2 separate regions of the Homo sapiens genome follow, and region 2 is linked to region 1. The links are contacts of gene promoters, found by promoter capture Hi-C in blood cells and fetal thymus (Javierre and others, 2016). All regions are on one chromosome and are shown on one strand. Each heading gives the region's core, a stretch centred on a gene start or on the middle of the fragment in contact. The rest is flanking DNA. Distances are from core to core; before and after follow the strand shown.

Evidence for each region. The method cuts DNA at HindIII sites, captures the fragments that hold promoters and counts their contacts. A CHiCAGO score of 5 or more calls a contact.
Region 2: a contact is called between a fragment that was not itself captured here and the fragment with the promoter of KCNJ16 in region 1, in 1 of 17 cell types (monocytes). The highest score is 6.0, in monocytes.

The regions. Positions count from the first base shown.
Region 1 is chr17:70,072,684-70,078,343 of GRCh38, forward strand. It overlaps KCNJ16 (potassium inwardly rectifying channel subfamily J member 16), which reads left to right and starts at 2,542. Exons shown (of 4, transcript NM_170741.4): 1 at 2,542-2,707. It overlaps LOC105371881 (a long non-coding RNA gene), which reads right to left and starts at 2,124. Exons shown (of 3, transcript XR_934952.3): 1 at 543-2,124. The HindIII fragment of the contact is 12,238 bases long and covers 1-2,913 here.
Region 2 is chr17:70,413,756-70,419,781 of GRCh38, forward strand. No RefSeq gene overlaps it. Among named protein-coding and RNA genes, the nearest start is that of KCNJ2, 250 kb to the left of the region's middle. The HindIII fragment of the contact is 3,400 bases long and covers 1,173-4,572 here.

The sequences.
Region 1 (5,660 bases), core at 1,292-3,791:
AGTTGACTTGGACTTAACCGTGAGAGGAAAATCATTAATCAGAAAAGAGGAACATTACTTTTGGAGAAGAGTAAATTTTACGGCTTAGCTAGTTTTGTTTTTGTTTTTTTTTTCTGTAAAGGGCCAGATACAAAATATTTTAGGCTTTAAGGACCACAGTCTCTGTTGAGGTCTTGAAGGTCACTGAATTCTGTTGTGTAATATGATGCCTTCATTGACAGTAAGTAAAAAAATAGGGATAGGCATATTTACCAATAAACATGATTTACAGACATAGAAATGTGAATTTCACATCATTTTCATGTCACAAATATTAGTTTTCTTTTACTTTTCCCCCGCTATTTATCATTGTAAAAACCATTCTTAGCTGGGAGTCCTTACAAAAACTGGAAGCAAGCCACAGTCTTCCAGTGACGGAGCTAGAGTGTTCTCTCTAACAAGTAACCCCTTTGTACAATGTAACTTCCTCTTAGGCCAATACTAAAATCACAGAACAGCAATACATTACAGATTTTTGAAAGAGATAATTATTTATCACTTACATTCAAGTAACAAATTCTTGTAATTTGACAAATCTTGAACATGCCTCCTCAACTTGCCTCAGTTTGTCTTTCTGTTTGGGGGAGGATTAAAGTTCACAAAAGTTGAACTTCAATGAAGTTAATTATCAGTTAAGGTAGACTGAGGAGGCAGAGACATGTAACAGAAAAGCCAATCCAGATATCATTTTTATTTATTTGGCTTTAGAAAGTGTTTTTCTACTTACATGTGAGTATGGGTGTGTCTGATATTCTGGGAATTTACTTCAAACAAAGGAATGAAGCCACGCAATGGCGATCTGACTCAGCTGGAGTTGGGAATCCATCTAGTTTCCCCATCTTGCCTCCCGTCTTGCTCTTCTCCATGGTCTGTTTTTACGCTGTGTTTAGATGCCTCGTCTTCTCAGATCAATCTAAATGCTCACCCACATAAAATCACCTTTCCTGAAATTGTATTTGCAGAGCAGATGGAGTCCTGTCCATTTTTGCGTGTGTGTTTTTTTTAAGTCTTTTGAGATAGAACTCTAACAAAGTGTGCTCTGCTTTCAAACAAGGCAGTAATTGAGCAGCATTAAGTGATAATATTGAACAACATCATGGATAAACCACAATGAGAGTTGCTGCAATTGTTATGGAAATGTAGGCATTTGTTTAGTCTTCAATTTTTTTTTTTAACAGAAAAGGCAACCTCTGCATTCACTGCTTACCTGAGATTTATGGATGAATGAAAAGATAGGTCCCTTGGAGAGTTCAAACTCTTCTGCAGATATTGTGTAACAGATTGCAAAATAGGTCTTCCTATCAGAATATGTATACCTTAGTGACAGCTATGAGTTTGGAACACGAATTATCTATCTGTGGTAGGTGTTGTCGTTGTTGCTATTATCATCCCCATTTGACAGTTGAGAAAATGGAGTTGCAGAAAGGTTAAGCAGTTTCTCAGTGTCACACAGCTAGTAAGTGGCGGTGCCAACATAGAAGTCCACTTCCTCAAGTGTTCATGCTTTTAAAAATGGAAACAAAACTCTAACAACCGTCAAACAGCAACGATTGTCAGAACCTAGAAAAGGCCTCTTAAATTTGCAGTGTTAACCAAGCCTGATGTGGTTCCCTAGATCCCCTGGCTGCCACCGCTCTGTGAAGCAAAGGAAAAACTAATTCCTTGCTAGCATAACACTTCTATTGAGCATTCCTGGACACAACTCCCCCAGGTTCTGAAGAGCCTAGGGTTGCTATTTGTTTAGTTCCCCATGGCTGCTTTTCACATTTTCTGGATCTTTCTCTTGATTCTAGCATTATAAGTCTACCTCTTCCCTGATCACTCACTTTTCTACCTCCTGGAGAGCACTGACCACGGGATCACCTCACCATTTTATTTAACCCATTAGGACTCAATGCCAGGCAAAACCTATACCACAGCCTGCATTGTATTCACCATCTCAGGCTCGAGCTCTGATTCCTGGGGTTGAGGAAAGGAAGACTTTCCAACCCCAATTTCTGCCATCCATGTTGATTAGTCAGAGGGCTAATCAACTGTGAACTCATGTTCTTTGGAACTAGGCAGCACAGGAAAAATAATCATTAAAGGTTTGGTAAATAAAAGACTGAATGGATGCTTAGCTACCTGTCATTATCCTGTCTCGCTTTTCGTCAGCATGCAATCCCAATCCTCAGCTGTTAAGATGTAGACAAAGAGTTCTGATGAAAGGGATTTATTTGTACTATTCCAACAGAGTCTGAAAACTAGCAGGAGCATTTCCATAGGTCGTCTCTCAACAATCCTGTCTGTAAATATTTGAGTCACTTACAGGCATTGTTGAGCATAGTTCTGGCCCAGCAAATCTTCCTCCTTTGTATCCCTGATCAAGTAAAAACTTAGTCAGGATATACTTGGGTGACCTTCACACTGTACCTCCTCCAGAGGTACAGAGGTGGTGACGTAATCACTGCCACAGCTGACTGGCTATGGCTTGCTTGATAAGACGCCAGGGGCTACCTATGTAGATTCCCAGGGAGGAACTGTAGGAACAAACCGGTGTCAATGGTTAACCCAGGTTCTTGGTGTCTGGAGCTTTTCTTTCCTTTATTATTAACTAAAGAGCATTCTCTACCATTGCCCAGCTGAAAGCACCTAGCTCATAGATTCTCTGTGGGGAGAGTGAATAAAGGTAAGTGCTATTATTGCTATGGATACAATGTCATTCAGCCTATGTTTTGCTCTTGCTGGCATCTGTGTTTGGGGAGCAGCAACACTCTGTTTCCAGCAAACGTAAATATTAATGATCAATTAAATGCAATTAAGATAATTTAATTTTTTATCCAAGTGCTTTAAGTAGGAATCAAACAGTGTGTCATATTCCTTAAGTTATTTTGAAGCTTTGGTTAAAAGTAGTCTCACATTGGTGTTTACAGAGTCTGTTAAACAGCCCTTGCCTGCTATTATATTTGTAAATGTCTAAAAGTGGCTTTATTATATTCATACCACATGGAGTATTCTGCAATGTCTTTCAAAACCAGATTTTTGCATCCTGTATGCACTTATGAACATATAATTGCAAATATTGAAAAATATGTATTTTATACCCCCCTCTTAAAAAGCTCAGAGAAAATACACGTTAACTTTTTTTTATAGTTGTCTATAATCATTGAAAGGAAATAAGAGATCTATTTTTTCTAGATTTATTTTAACATAAATTGAAAGTGAAGAATTTTCTCCTTTTGTTTTCACCTTAATCCCTCTAAAGCTTTTTTTTTTTTCTTATCATTTAAAAATCTTAAAATTTTGTTTTGAGTATTTAGTCAGAAAAGTGTGAGCTTGTAAAACTTTGCTCTCTGGATGCCACGAATTCTCTGACATATATAATTGAACAGTTTTCCTTGTTGGTATATTTAGGTAGTAAACAATAACATTTCTATAAGCCAGATGAATTTTGATCATGTGTATTACATGGACTGAATGGTCTTTAGAAAAAGAGTATTGGAGTATTTCTGCTAAATATTACTCTTATGGCTAGTAAGAGCCAGATCCTGAAGAAGAAAAAAATGTATGAATGCACCTTTGTTACTTTAGTATGGGAAATGTAGACTAGCCACTCTTTATGTCAGATTTTAACCAATAAAGGAACATGAAGTACCCAAACCACAGCTGTTTTGCAGAATACATTTAAGGAATTCCTGAAATTCAGCCAAAAAGAATTTAAAAGTGAACAAGGTCCAGAGTTCAATTCAAATCAAAAGAGAGAGAAAGAGAAAGAGAGCCTGAGTAACTTAGAGATGTAATCCTGCTTGTTTATTTTTAGAACACGATAATTGTGATAAATCTAAGATTATTAGTCTCATATACAACAAGACTGACAACCTTTGAAACTGCAAGAAAAGACTGCTTTGGGAGAGGAATTCAATATTCTATTTTAATGCATTTTTCTCAACAAGAATTTCAGCATGAGAGAGAACAAGAGTCTTCAAGGATATTGAAAAATATATGTTTCTTCTATTATATAGATTAGTGGTGAGTACAAGCTAAGACCTGGATATAAATTAATTGAAAATTAGAAATGGAAAAAAAGTATAGTTTGAGGCAAAATATATAAAGGGCATTGAAAGTAAATATTTGGCACCGAAATAATACAGGTATTTTCTTTGTTAAATTAGTAAAACCTACCACTTGTCCTCATACAAGAACTTGAGTTCCAGCATAAGAAGATCATTGGGAGCCATCTTCAAAGCTACCTCCCACCATTTTCCATTTATAAATGGAACTGTCAAAGAAGTCTTCACTAAGGGGGTGATATTTAGCCAAAGACCTGGAGGTGGCAAGGAAGTGAGCAACGTAGAATCCTTGGAGAAGAGCAGTTCAGGCAGATGGAACAGCCCTAAGGCTGAGGTGTGCCTGGCGAGTTAACAAAACAGCAAAGAGGCCAGTGTGGCTGAAGCAAAATTGCAGGAGTGGGAGTAGCAGGGAATACATGAGGTCCTGTAGATGTGCCATAATATTTACCAAGACAGATACGATTCTGCAAGCTACAAGTGTCAGAGAAGGTTTTTGAGATGTTAGAAAAGACCATGGGAAGCGTAGATTTAGATAAGTGGAGAGACAGTGAGGAGTATTGCGGATGACAGGCTGATGATACAAGTGAACAAAATATAGATGTGAGAATGAGCAGAATTAGCATAAGCATGAGAGCAAATGAAGTTAGGCTCCTCCAGTGTACCCAATGGAGTAAATAAAAAGGTTTCTGAACATCAAGGCTGTGCTGAGGCTAACAATATGCTCACCAACATGAAACTTGTAAGGGAAACACAAATCTCAACACAGAAGCCAGGCCCTCTGTAGCTCAAACCAGATGTTGTCAAGAGACAGGAAATTAAGAAATCTAAGTAAAAGTAGATTTCATGGACAGTAAACAGAATTAGAAGTCTTTCTCCAAATGCCTCTTTCCTGGTTAGGCTGTGTTTTTTTTTTTTGTTTGTTTGTTTTTTCTTGCATTTTAGTGAGTCCATCCATCAGCTTTGGCATCTCCAAATGGCCCCTTTGCTGGAAACCATGGTAATAAGGGCTCATCTTCTGAGATGTCTATGGGAAATGAAAGTAAACTCAAATAGCTGGTTCTTGGTTAAATTTTTCAGGCCCAAGGGCCCAGATTCAGAAAAAAAAAAAAGATAGTTTATCTGAAATGCATTGCATGAAGAATGCTTTCCTATACAAAGACAGTTACATTTTGCTTTCTTAGCTGGTTAGCTTCTGCAGACTGGGAGGAGAACTATTTTTATCATCATGCTTTAGGGCCTATGGACCCTAGGCTTTGTAGTTATTTCACTCTGTTAAACACAAGGGGTGGATGACTTTATTTTTTTGTATAGCTGCTTTTAAATGAAAAAGATAGGATCAGATTTTTTTCCTCACCTTGTTCCAGAAAGTTCTACTCTGAAATCAAGGATCTGGATGCAAAACATAACATTCTAATAGAGGCTTCTCACTATTAAATGCAACTTTTCCCAGTTGCCATGGCTCCACATTCTCCCCCTCCTAAAACTAGATCTGAAACTGCTGACAGGTGTATAAGAAAATTTTAAAAAGTCAATCATCTGGGGAAAAAACAGTCCCAAATTAGATTTATCCAA
Region 2 (6,026 bases), core at 1,623-4,122, 340 kb after region 1:
AGGCACCTGCCACCACGCCCAGCTAATTTTTGTATTTTTATTAGAGACGGGTTCTCACCATGTTGGCCAAGCTGGTCTCCAACTCCTGACCTCAGATGATCTGCCTGCCTCGGCCTCCCAAAGTGCTGGTATTACAGGTGTGAGCCACTGCGCCTGGCTGCCAATGTCATTTTCTTAATCACTATGTTGTACTGCCTGCTATTTTAGTTAATTTTTCTCAAATTCAATTGCTTCTTTGTGCTCTTGTCTATTGCTTAACATGCAAGGAGGTTTAAAGAATTATCTTTCAAAAGACCTACAATGCAGGCAATACGAAACCAGAGAAGGGAGAAATTGAGTTCCAATTGTAGATTGGCTTTTAAGAGGATTCAGGGGCATTTGATGTTGAACTGAAGAAGTCAGTATAGAGAACTGCAAATCAAAGAAAGAAAAGTAGTTACTTTAGAAGTTCAGCAGTGCTTAGGATAATTAGATATTCATATATAGAGGAGCCAAATACTTAACACTTTGAAAGATCCAAAAGAAATTAAATAGAAGCCAGTGGTTGTGAAGCATCCACAGGAATTTGGAAGGGTTAAGGATAATGAGGTGTTTTTCTCTGGAGTTACAAGCAAAGGGAGGAAACCAAAAGCAACACAATTATTATTAAATTCGTAGAAATGGTCTTTCCTCAGTATTTTTCTAAGTCAGAGAAGACAGGCAAACAGATGCTTATCATCTAATCTACTTATCACCAGAACCGTCTCTCACAGTTCTCAGTAGAATTGAGCCAAACTGGATATAAAGGTTATAAGATGATTATTTGAGCTTTACTTCTATAATCATCACAGTTTGGACTCTGTCCATTTCGGGGAATTCATTTAAACTCCTGGATGGCTGCATTTTTTGAATTTAAAGTCTAAAAACAAATGTGCTTGCTGGAAACACTCTTCATCCTGTGGTGGGTAGGTTAAAGCATAAATTAGACCAAATGACATGTCTGGATCCAGAGAACTGATTCAGGGAAAATTACTTATTGATAATATTTTGTTTATTTTGAATTATGTTTTAGAATTCGGAACACATTGTGCTGTATTAAAACTAAAGCAATTCCACTAACAGGGCTGGAGGAATTATCATCTAATTTTGTTTTAGATGATTTTGCTGGTCTGCTTATGGGATTTACTATGCAAAGCTTCTTTATCCACTCACCTGGAAAGCCTATGTTGTGAAGTATATAATTACATAATCTTTTGAGTGGAACATTTAGCTATTTTCTGATAGTTTTAAAAGTGACTTTAATGAGCTATTTTCAGATAGTTTTAAAAGTGACTTTAATGAGCAATGAGGTGGTAGAATAAAGAAGGGGTAGTTTAGAGGATACTGTTCTTTCTTTGTGGCCCTAAGGGATTGACAGTGTCAATATATGGGAAGGCAAAGAGTAAGACTCTCTTTTCCTTGCATCATGTACTTTTAGACCTCCCCTAGAGATGAAGATTTTTAAACACTAAATATTAAATAGCCTAAGTGAGATTTGCAAACTTCTAGATCATCATATTAACACTTTCTTTTAAGTGAATATCCAAATAAGACTTTTAAAAGTGATATGATCAAGAAAACTCTAGAGGGTTTTCTTTTTCCACCTGGTTTTGCATGGGAGCCTGAGGTAGTAAAAGAAGCTACCATTGAGAAATGATGGTAAGATTTAAAGGTAAAGGGTTCTTACAGGTGCCATGAGGGAGAAAAGATGACAAAGAAATAAACTTGTCAAAATCATAAATGCTGGAAAACCGTACACATGGAATTTTTTTGGTATGGAAAAAATCAAAGTAATGGAGTTAAGTTATTGGCAATGTTTTAAAGAGGAAACAGGAAAAAAATGAAAGAGTAAAGGAAATATGGCAGCAGGATTGTGAAAGGATTTATGAATGTTTGATAGTGTGATAATGTTTGATTTTATTTATGCTTTTTGTGTTTGGAAACCCAAGCCATTCTGGCTCCTGTGGCCTTCCCCCTGGTTAGGAAAAATATCATTTCAAAATACTCTGTCTTAACCCCTAGGGTTAACACTATGATTAATAGGAATTAAAAAAAAATATTTTCCCAGGCTTACTTAGAATGAATTGAAGCAGTCAGTGAAAGAGAAACCAAAAAATAGGAGAAAGCCATATGTATGATCGATTGAATATTTACATTTGAAAATTCCCTTATGTTGTTGAATGTCACATGTACATAATTTTCCATAAGGAATGCTTCATAGAATAAACTGAGTCCCCTTTACCATTCTTTCTCTGAGAATAATGGGCTAAGTAAAATATTCTTACCCTTTTTGCTAGTCTATTATTAGTTCCTAATTGAGGATAGCCTTGTGGTTTGAAGTGAAAGGGAATTTTTGGAAGTGGCTCTAAGAACCTGATTCTGAATCCTAATGAAAACATCTAGAAAAGAGATATCTGCAGATAAATTATAATGATTAGTCAGTGAGTGGGCTAAATTGCAGCTGAAGAACCCAGACTGGAGTTTGAGTTGTATCTTCAGTTTACTAGCTGTGTGTCCTTTTAAGCAACTTAACTTCTCTAGGCCACAGACATCTGCACTGTATTCTAGTGCTGTGATATTTTTGGCCAGTCAGGTAACCTTTCAGTTTCCTCATCTGTAGAATGTAGATAATAATAGTACCTATCCCACAGAGTTGCTAAGTGGATTAAATGAAATGGTAACAGGAAAAACATATAGCTCTCAACAATGTGAGCCTATCATTATTAAAGGTAATATGATGTGGTGATTAAATCTTATTAAAATACTTATCAATCATAAAAAATGCTCGAGAAAAATAAACATGAGCATATAATTTTTTAAAATGAAAAGGAAAACGACACTATGACACCAAGGAGGCTGCTTTTTAGATAAAGACTCAGAGAAGGCATCTCTGAGGAGCTGATACTTAAGCTGAGACCTAAACAAGAACCTAATGAAAAGATAGTCACCCTTGGTGGTGACTAAATAAAAGCAAGTTAAACCAACTAAGATGATTAATTAGTCTATTAGATTGACACAATAAAAAGGTAAATAATAAAAGTGTTGGTAGGAGAATGGAGATACAGTCTCTTCCAGGAGAAATTTCTTGAGACAAGTTAGCAGCACATTTCCCAATTGCAAAAATATGGAACCAGCCAAATGTGATATATATAGTCCATGGAATATTACTCAGCGAAAAGGGCCGGGCGCGGTGGCTCACGCCTGTAATCCTAGCACTTTGGGAGGCCAAGGCGGGTGGATCATGAGGTCAGGGGTTTGAGACCAGCTTGACCAACATGGTGAAACCCCGTCTCTACTAAAAATACAAAAATTAGCTGGGCGTGGTGGCGGGTGCCTGTAATCCCAGCTACTTAGAAGGCTGAGGCAGGAGAATTGCTTGAACCCGGGAGGCAGAGGTTGCAGTGAGTCGAGATCGTGCCACTGCACTCCAGCCTGGGTGACAGAGCGAGACTCCGTCTCAAAAAAAAAAAAAAAAAAAAAAAAGAGAGAATGAAATAATGGCTTTGAAGCAATTTGGATGGATTTGGAGGCTATTATTCAGAGTGAAGTAATTCAGGAATGGAAAACCAAATATCCTATGTTCTTACTTATAAATGGGAGCTAAGCTATGAAGTTGCAAACGCACAAGAAAGAACTTTGGGGACTCACGGGGAAGGGGTGGGAGGGTGTGAGGGATAAAAGACTACAATTGGTACAGTGTATACCACTCGGGTAATGGGTGCACCAGTATTTCAGGAATCGCCACTAAAGAACTTATCCATGTAACCAAAACCCACCTGTTCCCCCAAAACTATCAAAATTAAAATAAAAATAACAAAAATGCAAACTGAATATTCCTCAACTCACATTCATATCTCTAGACTATTGCCTAAAGACATAATAGAACCAATGCTCAAATATATGCATGCAATTATTTATGATGGTCATTCTTCAGTATTAATATTTTTGTTTTTACTGTTAATTTTTAAAAGCTATTTATGTATTAAGGATGTTTACATTTAAAAAATTAAGAGTAACCTAAGTGTTTATTGATATAGAGGATTTGATTAAATGAATTATGGTACGTATCTGCAATGCAACTGTTGAAGATGTCGTTACTCAATATTCTTTTAGGTAGAGAAGGTTGTATAATGATCAACCTTTTTGAGACCCATGACATAAAGTCATTAACTCATGATTGCTTTTCTCCTGTTAGCCATTTTGATTTATTATTAGAGAGAGGGTAGAAATTTGTCAGTTTGACTTGTCTGTATGTATTACCTTAATATTTGCTATCATAGAATCAAGTTATTATCACAGAAGTTGTTTTTGGCCATCATTATGTTCCAAGTTATTGTCTGAAAAATGTATTTGATGTACTCCTTTTGGAGTCAGTGGAACAGTAGTCAGGACACCTGGTTTTTCCCTTTCTACAAATAAGCCATGAGAGATCATGGAGAAAGTCATTTGCCAAAGAATTCTTATATCATAGCATGAGAGCTGTGCTTTGACAGTTTCCCATGAGGTTTATATTACACTGTCTGCACCTGGGTCTAAGCCCATGACCTTCTGTGAAGCTTGATCTGATGATATTCTGTTCGATTTAACAAACATTTATGAGCACCCATCATGGGCCAGACAGTGCTTAGGACAGAGGACATTATAAAGATGCATGAAATAATGATCCTTTTCGTTAAAGTATTTCCACTTAAACGAGCTATTTGAGTTAGCTATCGGGATGTAAAGGCACTTTTTCAGAGTTTCAGATTAGACTAAAGCCCCAATATTTTATCAAGCAAGTAAACTTGATTTTCTGATACCTACAACTGAGTTGGAGCAATGAGGTCTAGAATATGAATTTTCTGGCTCTGAATACAATGCTTTGTCCATTGAACTTGACTTAGTAAAGAGTTTCCTAAGAGGGATCAACAATTATTACATGGTCAATATATTATTTCTTTTATTTCTTATGAACAATACACATCTATGAATTAATTGACCTGAGCAACAACTCTATGAAGTGGTAGATACTCTTGCTATCACCATAGTATAAATGAGGCAGCTGAGTCCCAGAGAGTTTAAGTAACTTGCCTATGATCACCAGTGTAGCCCAGCTTCAGAATGCATATCCTAATAGACAGAACAAGGGTTATGAGAAACATTGACATTAACAAGTAATTATTTTAAAATGTGATAAAAGCAGGAGTACAGGTTGCTATAGAAGCATGCACCCAGGGACTCAACGTATTCAGTTGATGAGGCTTCCCTGAGAAAGAGGTGCTCCATGCTGGGTCACGAATAATTAATATGAAAACTGTCCACTTCAACCCCTAGATAGACTTCAAGTTATTTAAGAATGGAGTCCTTTTTGCATGTCACAAGTACCTATTATATTGCTGGGCATAGGAAGTATGAGAAGACATTTATTGAATGAATACATAAATTAAAATGTTAGATGTCTTCTATGAGCTCTCTCAGAAGCTTTTATATTATTGGTTTGTGTAACAATCCTGCAAGGCAGTTATTTTTTCTTCTCACACTACTCATTGAGAAATTGAACTTTGGTTCATTTGTGGACTTTTGTGTATTTCAAATTTCCTTGCTGTTCCATTTCAGTCTCAGGATTGACTCACATCTCTTCGAGGGATCAACAATTGTTTCTTGATCAATATATGATTTCTTAAATGATGAATTAAACCATCTTGATGTTGGTAGACTGTCAGAATTTTAATAAATTTTCCAAATGTTTTTTAACATCCCAGGGCACTTCATATAACTAACCATTAACACCTTAGGCACACACTTCCTTTAATTTCATATTTACAAATGAACCTTATCTCTAAGTATTGTAAATAGGGTATTCAAACACCTGAATAGCTAAGGTGTTATGCAGGCAAAGTCCGTTACCCGTTCTCATCACCATACTTTGAATATTGTTAAAATATAAAACTACCCACTTATGAATTCTTCATCTCCAGTATTCCAATCTATACTTTCACTTCAGTTATTCTTCCACTTTCCTTCTAGGC